Regions from separate parts of the Homo sapiens genome. Here regions 1 and 2 are each linked to region 3. The links are contacts of gene promoters, found by promoter capture Hi-C in human tissues and cell types (Jung and others, 2019). All regions are on one chromosome and are shown on one strand. Each heading gives the region's core, a stretch centred on a gene start or on the middle of the fragment in contact. The rest is flanking DNA. Distances are from core to core; before and after follow the strand shown. Region 1 overlaps UBE2R2 (ubiquitin conjugating enzyme E2 R2). Region 2 has its middle 20 kb from the start of TESK1. Region 3 holds the start of GALT (galactose-1-phosphate uridylyltransferase).

Evidence for each region. Contacts are between HindIII fragments. The study calls those that stand out against the background at their distance.
Region 1: a contact is called between a fragment that was not itself captured here and the fragment with the promoter of GALT in region 3, in 2 of the 25 tissues and cell types used here (dorsolateral prefrontal cortex and heart left ventricle).
Region 2: a contact is called between a fragment that was not itself captured here and the fragment with the promoter of GALT in region 3, in 2 of the 25 tissues and cell types used here (H1 embryonic stem cells and liver).

Annotation. Positions count from the first base shown.
Region 1 is chr9:33,914,860-33,918,169 of GRCh38, reverse strand. It overlaps UBE2R2 (ubiquitin conjugating enzyme E2 R2), which reads right to left. Exons shown (of 5, transcript NM_017811.4): 5 at 1-1,152. The coding sequence ends at 933. Among named protein-coding and RNA genes, the nearest start is that of SNORD121B, 18 kb to the left of the region's middle. The HindIII fragment of the contact is 7,979 bases long and covers 1-3,310 here.
Region 2 is chr9:35,583,863-35,586,918 of GRCh38, reverse strand. No RefSeq gene overlaps it. Among named protein-coding and RNA genes, the nearest start is that of TESK1, 20 kb to the left of the region's middle. The HindIII fragment of the contact is 5,243 bases long and covers 1-3,056 here.
Region 3 is chr9:34,644,810-34,647,924 of GRCh38, reverse strand. GALT (galactose-1-phosphate uridylyltransferase) reads right to left here and starts at 1,250. Exons shown (of 11, transcript NM_000155.4): 1 at 1,139-1,250; 2 at 667-836; 3 at 358-433; 4 at 220-268; 5 at 1-93. The coding sequence starts at 1,220. RefSeq lists enhancers at 646-825, 1,396-1,505, 2,719-3,013 and a silencer at 2,719-3,013. The HindIII fragment of the contact is 1,689 bases long and covers 815-2,503 here.

The DNA of each region.
Region 1 (3,310 bases), core at 728-3,227, 730 kb after region 3:
CTCTCCCAACAGTGGTCACCAGTAGTTTCAACTTTTTCCCCCCAGTAGCATCAACCAAACTTAGCATAGTGATTTTTAACTCTTTGCTCCCACACGCACTCATCCCAACTTCCCCGCTTGCCCCACTCCCTGGGGGGAAATAACCCTGCCTTTAAAATAAATAGCAACCAAGTGCTCAGTTCTATGGAAAGTATGAATATTTATTTCAGGCTTTCGATCCCAATCGATTTCAAAAAACAAAGTCTGATTTCTCTCCTCAGAGCAGCTGAGGCCTCCATGTTACGATGGTTTCATGGAGATTGAAGGAGCACATTTCATCAGGCTTAGCACAAAGTCCCTGATGCCCACCATGTCCCAGCCTTAGGAAAGGAAAGAAACAGAATTCACCACCATGGGGCTGAACGAATGCACACACACTAATGTAAATGAGCAGCTAAACCTTGGCAAATTTGTTTTTTTTTTTTTTTAAAGTTTGTTTTGTGGGTTTTTTTCCATTTTCTTTTGCTACCCAGTATATGCAGCACTTGTGAACTCCCAACAGGTTCCCAGCTTTAAACACATTAAACATCTTGAAAGACTATTGAATTCTTCAAGAATCTAAAAACAGACCAAACGTGTTTTGCTGTGAACATTCTGTAGAGACGAAGTGAGGCGGGAGTTTGGGTTCATATTTTTTAAAAAAAGAATCAATATAGTGATGGAAGGGTAAAGAATGCAAGAATTCAGACATTCTGTGGAGGGTTACTCTCTCTCCATTAAAGGTCCATAAAAAGGAGCAAACTGAGATCCATAAGGGGAGTCAGCAGGAGCTGTGTGTGTTTCCCCACCCGCTGTGAATAGGTTTTTGCTGAGGGGCCATGGCCAGGTCCCCACTTGCTCCCCTCCCTTTGGCCTGAGATGGCAGGGCAGTACAGGGGCACTGAAGGAGCACGTCACGACTCCTCATTCCCAGAATCATCATCATCATAACAGTCGGCATCTTCCTCCTCCTCATCTTCATCATCAATGTCGTCATCATACAAGTCGTCGTAAAGCAAATCTGAGCTGTTGTCATTGGAAGGCACTTTAGTTTTGATGCAGTATTCCGCCAGGGTTGTGGGGACCTTCACTCCATCCTTTTCTGCTTCGGCCTTAGTGGCTGAAACTTGTTTCCTGAAGGGAGGTTGACACAGAAATGGTTTACGGTAAGTCTTTTTTTAAGACAGATTTATAATTGGCCTTAAATAATCAATATTACTTATGACTCAGCTCTCCAAACTTCAGTACCTGCCTGAAAGCATCTGACAGATACCCTGTACTACACCAAATGCTTTCAACCCACTGGGTACAATTTTGAAGTAAACTTTGACTTTTTAGGAGGGGAAATACACTGTTAATATCAAGGGAGTTTAAAGCAGTGGATCAATTATAGCCAGAATCACCTCGTCAACTGGCTGTCCTCCGATTCATGTAAGGGCCAATAGGTCGGCGACTTAAGAATCAGAACAGGTATTGACTTAGTGGGCGGAATGTCATGCTTTGTTGTTTGCATGTGTGAAGCACAGGGATAACTGCCAGAATAAGAATAGATAATAGAAGGGCTAATACGCCTCCTAGTTTCTTGGGGCTAGATCATAAAGGTTGCATATGTGAATAAAACGTCCCACTCTGGTTTAATGTGGGGTGGGGTGCTTAGGGGATTGGCTAGGGTTTTGGCCTAGTCACCTCACCACCAAACTCAAGTGCCCCAACAATTCTTAATTTAATTATCCTCTTAATTTTCACTGACAGTAAAATTCAAATGCCTATGCCAGATTCCAGTGTCTTGCACGACCCACTCTTCCCCACCCAAGACGGAGTCTTGCTCTGTCACCCAGGCTGGAGTGCAGCGGCGTGATCTCGGCCCACTGCAACCTCCATCTCCCAGGTTCAAGCAATTCTCCTGCCTCAGCCTCCCAAGTAGCTGAGATTACAGGCTCCCGCCACCCCACCGGGCTAAATTTTGTATTTTTAGTAGAGATGGGGTTTCACCATGTTGGCCAGGCTGGTCTCGAACTCCTGGCCTCATGATCTGCCCACCTCGGCTTCCCAAAGTGTTGGGATTACAGGCATGAGCCACTGCACCCGGCCACATGACCCACTCTTGTATTTTCTCCAGCCCTTCAACACATTCACCCTGGTCTTTTTTTGGCATCTCGGACACACCTTGTTGATTTTTCTGTCTGGACCAGTTGCTCTTCCCCTGCCCCACACATGCCTGGCTCCTTCCTGTCACTCAGAATCACGGCCTCAGATATTAAGGCTTAAATATCACCTTAGAGAAGGCCTGGCCTGACAACCCAATTTAAAGCAGCCATCTAGTCATTCTTTCACATTATCCTACTTAGCACTATCTAGTATTTTTTGCTTGCTCACTCTTCTGTCTCCACATATTTGAATGTGAGCGTAAATGTCTTTCTTAGTCCCATTTCCCCAGTCAGTGCCTAGCACATAGCCTGGCACATAAGAGGTGTGCAATAAATACTGATTGTATGAATGAACAAACAATAAATTGTTTCCTTCAACAATTATAAAAATTTGAGTCATCAAGACTAGACCACTCTTCCTGATCTTCCTAATGTCAATCTCTTAGTTGTGCTTGAAGCTTTTCTTCTGTTGCCTTGCTTTGAATATTGATGGTCCTGAGGCTTCTGGGCTTCAATCTCCACACTCTCAGCACTCTCCCTGGGACATCATCTCTGTTCCCATAATTTTAACCACCACTCCCTTTATGCTGACAGCTCTTGGCTTATATAAACAAATGCCTTTTGGAAGCCTCTGTCCTAATGTTCCATATGCAGAGGTAGACTGCATATGCATTTTCTACCTCTATGGACAGTTTCTCCCATTTTACTTCTCTGAATAAATGAGCATTGCTTCTTAAAATAATAAATCTCACTCCAAAGACCTATTGCTTTACAGCTTAAATATTTTTATATCTGTCCCCTCATCCCCATTACTACTACCTCAGTTTAGTCCATGTTGGTCCCCTGGCCAACTATTTGATTTTTTTTTTTTTTTTGAGACAAGGTCTCCCACTGTCACCCAGGCTAGAGCACAGTGACGCAATCTCAGCTCATTGCAACCTCTGGCTCCAGAGCTCAAGCAATCCTCCCACCTCAGACTCCCAAGTAGCTGGGATTACAGGTATAAGCCACCTCTCCTGGCTAATTTTTTTGTAGAGATGGTATTTTGCCATGTTGCCCAGGCTTGTCTCAAACTCCTGGGCTCAAGCAATCTGCCCGCCTCGGCCTCCCAAAGTCCTGGGATTACAGGCGTGAGCCACTGTGCC
Region 2 (3,056 bases), core at 281-2,780, 940 kb before region 3:
TTTGCTGGATACAGAATTCTTGGCTGATAATTGTTTTGTTTAAGGAGACTGAAAATAAGACCCCAATCCCTTCTAGATTGTAGGGGTTTCTGCTGAGAAATCTGCTGTTAATCTGATAGGTTTTCCTTTATAGTTTACCTGATGCTATTGCCTCACAGCTCTTAAGATTCTTTCCTTTGTCTTGACTTTAGATAACCTGATGACTATGTGCCTAGGTGATAGTCTTCATGCGATGAATTTCCCAGGTATTCCTTGAGCTTATTGTATTTGGATGTCTAGATCTCTAGCAAGGCCAGGGAAGTTTTCCTCAATTATTCCCTCCAATATGTTTTCCAAACTTGTAGTTTTTTGTTTTGTGTTATTTTGTTTTTGAGACGGAGGTTTGCTCTTGTTGCCCAGGCTGGAGTTCAGTGGTGTGATCTTGGCCCACTGCAACCTCTGCATCCCAGGTTCAAGCAGTTCTCCTGCCTCAGCCTCCCGAGTAGCTGGGATTACAGGCATGCACCACCACACCCAGCTAATTTTGTATTTTTAGTAGAGATGGGGTTTTACCATGTTGGTCAGGCTTGTCTGGAACTCCTGACCTCAGGTGATCCACTCGCCTTGGCCTCCCAAAGTGCTGAGATTACAGGTGTGAGCCACCACGCCTGGTCTCTAGAGGGTATTTAAACCCCAGAAAATTCTGTAACTGATGCTCTTGAGCCACTTGCTTGAGCCCACTCCTACCCTATGGGGTGTGCTTTTACTTAAAATAAGTTTCTGCTTTTACTGCCTTGCTTTGTGTGTTTTGTCTGATTATTTGTTCAAAACGCCAAGAACCTGGACAACTACCCTCAACCAGTAACACTATTGCTCATTTATTTCTGGTGTTCTTGGGTCTTACGGGGTTATAGACTGTGTGACTCCTGGAGGGGAAAGGGTGGCCAACATACAGTCACCTCTGTTTCATGTTTTTGATATACAAGGGAAAGCTATTCTTAAAAGAACAGGTGACTCCCCAGGGAGTCAGGAGTGGTTACAGGGCATGACTTCTTCCCACTCATGGCCACAAACAAAAACAAGCCCAGTTGGAGCACAAACAGGGTCCCTACGGGGTGCGATGCCTACCCTTTGCTGCCAAGTTGTGTCTATAGAGATATTTTTCCCTGTTCTAATTGGGGTGGTTGAACAATCTTTGTTTTCCAAAAGGGGAGGAGGTACTCCCACCTTCCCAGACTAAATAGTTGTTTTTCTCCCATGTGTTCCTTTTTTTTTTTCTCCTGTATGTTCTGATCCAGGGGAAGGAACCATAGATGGTCTCATTGCTTACAAGTTCTATCCCATTTACTTTGCTGTGGCATTGGGAACTTGGCAACTAAGGCTGGATCAGAGCATTGCAGGAAACTTGGCTTTTGTGTCATTAACACAACACTGGGTGCCAAAGATAGAATCATTAGTGCACTAGAAGTATAGATACCCAACTTTCCAGGTCCACATAATAGCAGTGAGGGGGTTCAGGTGGAACCCATTAAGTGGGGGAGAGTTCCATCTAACAAGTAATAGTCTGGGGAGAGGCAGTGAGATTTTTCCGGGTAGGCCTTATGGACTTGCTTTTTAATCAGCTGTAACTCTGCCTCAGCCTCCTTTGTTAATTGTTGAGGGCTAGTGAGACTAAGATCTCCTCTAAGGATAGAAAATAGATTACTCATGGCATAGGTAGGAATGCCTAGAGCAGGTTGTGTCCAATTAATGGTCTTTAGTCATTTTTGAAAGTCATTTAATGTTTTCAATTGATCTCTACGTATGGTTACTTTCTGTGGCACAATTGTAGTGTCATTTACTAAGGTCCCCAAGTAGGAGTAAGGAGTAGTAGTCTGAAATTTGTCAGGGGCTATAATTAAACTGGCAGGAAAAATCAAGTTTTGCAAGTGATCATAACATTGGAGTAATATTTCTCGAGTGGGGGCAGCACAAATTATATCTTCTATACAATGAGTAATGTAACACTGTGGAAATTTTTTACGAGTCGGTTCAATTGCTTGTCTTACATAAGTCTGGCAAATTGTTGGACTGTTCAACATGCCTTGAGGCAACACTTTCTAATGAAAATGCTTAGCAGGCTGCAGGTTGTTTACTGCAAGAATTGTAAATGCAAACCATTCAGTCTTGCTTAGCTAAGGGGATAGTAAAGAAACAGTCTTTTAAATCTATGACTATTAAAGACCAGTTTTTTGGAATCATAGCAGGAGAAGGCAGTCCTGGCTGTAATGTCCCCATAGGTTGTATAATTGAATTAATGGCCCTTAAGTCAGTTAACATTCTCCATTTACCTGATTTTTTCTTAATTATGAAAACTGGAGAATTCCAAGGGGAAAATGTTGGAGCTATGTGTTCTTTTTCTAATTGTTCAGTAACTAAGTCCTCTAAAGCCTCCAGTTTCTCTTTACTCAGTGGCCATTGTTCTATCCAAATTGGCTTATTCATTAACCATTTTAAAGGTATAGGTTCTGGAGGCTTAAAAATGGCCGCCATCAAAAATAATAATCTTAAACCTTGGTGGGAAATTTGTCTTTCCGCTTGAAGCGGTTCCTTCGAACTTTGCAAATTTTTTCCTAGTCCCGTACCAGGAACATACCCCATTTTATGCATCATATGTTGACTTTGAGGGCTGTATAATTGTTCTGGAATTAGAACTTGTGCTCCCCATTGTTGTAATAAATTTATAGGTACAGAAGTTATAATTGGTTGAATAGTCCAGGTTGTCCATTGGGCCCTTCACAATGCAAAATATAACTACTTTAATATACTTCAGGGGCTTTACCAACTCCAACTATGTTAAATTGAGCGGGTTGAATTGGCCACGTGGACGGCCAGTGCTGTAGATAAATGATTGAAACGTCCACTCCTGTATCTACCAAACCTTTAAATTTCTTTCCCTGAATAGTTATTTCACAGGTAGGATGTTTATCAGTAATTTGATTCACCCAATAAACTGCTTTGCCTTGTTTATTTGTGCTTCCAAATCCTCCTGTTCATTTAATTTCACTTTTCCCCATTTCTACATATGGCACAATCAG
Region 3 (3,115 bases), core at 1-2,500:
ACTGAGGCCCATGCATCAACAACAGCCCGGATCTCAGGGACCGACATGAGTGGCAGCGTTACATCCGACCAGGGGTGGAAGCACATGACCTTACTGGGTGGTGACGGGAGAAAAGATAACCGAGAGGTAGGGCTTGGCTGTGCTACGGGCAGGGCCGAACCCCAATGCTGAGTCTCCAACTCTGGTTTGAAAGTTGTAAGAGGGGAAATCCATAGTTACCAGACTCCTCGAGCAGACTTTGCTTGGAAAAGGGGATGATCACTGGGTCCTGAGGTAAAGGAGTATCACTCTCTGCAGCAGAAGTCCCTCAAGAGGTCTAGCCACCCTCCTCCCCAGCAGCAGTTGGAGCCAGGTTACCTGGACTGGGGGCATCAGGCTGCAGAGCTGGGAAGTCGTTGTCAAACAGGAAGGTGCTATCGTACTGGGGATTCACCTACCGACAAGGATAGGCTAGAAGCACTCACTGCCCCATACCACCAGTTACCTGGTGGGCTTCAAAGACTGGACAGGCTACAAGGGAGTAGGGAAGGCCCACCCTAGGGGACCAAAAAGCTTGGTGGGATATGACCCAGAAGGAGGTTCACTATCCCTGTGGGTGGAGGACAGTTCTAAGAGGGAACTACTCCCCGTGGCCCAGCCTGCAGATGCAGGGCTCTACAGGCTTACCTCTCCGTTGGCTCGGATGGCCCCAGGACACAGAGGGTTGAGAGGGTCATGGCGGGGCACTGTCTTCAGAAGCTGGGGCTCCACTTGACCCTGCCAGGGCCGCTTCATGCGGTGAGCTGACACCAGCACCCACTCATCCTGCAGCGGGTTGTAGCGGATATGCTGATGGTCTGGGGGCAGACAGTCAAGATCAGTCCTCAGAGCTCTCTAGCTCCCTCTCTCCTGGGTCTCACCCACCAGCAGGCCCAAGCTCGGGAGCGCCCTCTCGGCCCTGTCCCGCTCAGGAGCTAGAGGCCCAGGATTGGACTTTCCCAGCGCCAATTGGCCTGCTGCTCGTACAGGCCTGCAGACTGTACGCCTTGTCGGTCTGGCTCGGGATGAGCGTTCCAACCTTCGGAGGGGACGAAAGCTTCCTAAGGAAGGGGAGGGCTCGGCTCCGCGCCCCAGCGAGTCCCTGCCGCGGTGCAGTTACCGTTTGCCCGGAAGGTTGCTGCTGCGGCGTCCGCCTCTGACGCCTGCTGGCGTTGCTGAGGATCGGTTCCACTGCGCGACATGAGGCCACCGGGGGATCCGCTGGAAAATCTGCAGGGCCGTGCCTCACCTTTCACTTTCTCCGTCCACACCACCCCTCCCCGCGCCGCCCCCGATGATTGGCCAGCCGCCAGCACGTGACTGACTGACTGGGCTGCCCTGCCACCTGGGGGCGGGGCTCAGAACAGCTGTGAACCCTGGGGGCCGACATTGATGATCCTACTTCACCCAGAGCTAGAGCCACTACACTGGAAGAACCTCTGTGAAAGCTGCCTACTGCAGAATCCTTGGGCTCCAGGATGCCTACAGGACTTGCTTGCTGCAATCATTCATTTGATCTTTCATTCAGCAAATATTTACCAAGCATCTAGCATGTGCTAGGCACCTAGGCTGTGTAAAGCATTGGGATGCACATGTCAGGCATGGCCTCTGCCCTGCCTGAGCTTACATTCTAGGGCGAGTAAGGATATGACCCTGGATCAACAGCGCCTCAGTCACCTGCTCAGTGGCTGTAGCGCAGGAGAGGCAAACTTGGTGGGGTCTGTGTGGAGTACTTCACCATAACCATATCCTATCCCCAAAAGCAAAAACAGATTTGGGAAAAAGGGCTAAGTAACCATATTCTCTTTTTCTCTCACTCTTGCTCTCCTTCCTCTCTCTCTCTCTCTCTTTTTCATACACACACCAAGACAGCACAAGAAGTGGGAGGGGTAAAAGGGCTATAAAAAAAAATCTAAAAATGGCCGGGCTCGGTGGCTCACGCCTGTAATCCCAACACTTTGGGAGACCAAGGCAGGCGGATCACAAGGTCAAGAAATTGAGACCATCCTGGCCAACATGGTGAAACCCCGTCTCTAGTAAAAAAAAAAAAAAAAAAAATTAGCTGGTCTTGGTGGCGTGCACCTGTAGTCCCACCTACTCGGGAGGCTGAGGCAGGAGAATCACTTGAACCCAGGAGGCAGAGGTTGCAGTGAGCCGAGATTGTGCCCATGCACTCTAGCCTGGCGACAGAGCAGACTCCGTCACAAAAAAAAAAAAAAAAGTACAAGAAAGTCTAAAAATGTGGAGAGTACAGGACTATCAGAAGCTCCAGCCACCATCTAGGTGGGGCCTAGTGTTTCCTTTACACATCCCCTTCCCTTTTCTAAATTTTCCTTGGATGGGACCAATTGGCTAACACTAGGATAAAATTCAAATTAATTCCTCCCCTGGTACTTTTGTTTGTTTGTTTGTTTGAGAGAGAGTCTCACTCTGCCACCCAGGCTGGAGTGCAGTGGCGTGATCTTGGCTCACTGCAACCTCCACCTCCCAGGTTCAAGCGATTCTCCTGCCTCAGCCTCCAAGTAGCTGGAATTAGAGCTGTGTGCCACCACACTGGGCTAATTTATGTATTTTTAGTAGAGACGGGGTTTCACATGTTGGCCAGGCTGGTCTTGAACTCCTGACTTCAAGTGATCCTCCTGCCTCAGCCTCCCAAACAGCTGGCCCCCAGTACTTTTAAAGAGCCATCTAAATATTGTCTAAACCTCTTCCCCATTTCACATTGGAGCCCAGAGGACTCAAGGTCACCCAGAGAATTAGTGGCCAAGCTGAGATTTGAATGCAAGTTTCCAAGGCTTTTCCCAGTGCTGTGAGATGCCTCTGAGGCTTCAGTGGAATGCAGGACAGAGACCCAGTGAGTTAGAAGTTGAGCCATAGCAGGGACATCCCTTCCCCCAATCAAGACCAAGCCAAGCCAGGTGTTTTGCAATTGAGCTGCAAAAACTAGGTCATGGGTCATTTACTTGATCTCTGCCCTAGGGTCCTCAGACTGGAATAGGAAGAGGCTACCTTCAGAGGTAGGGGGCAGGGAGCTGAGGACTGAGAAACAGGGGTTTTACCTGTCCCACTGGCTGTTCATATTACCCAAAGAGGTGAG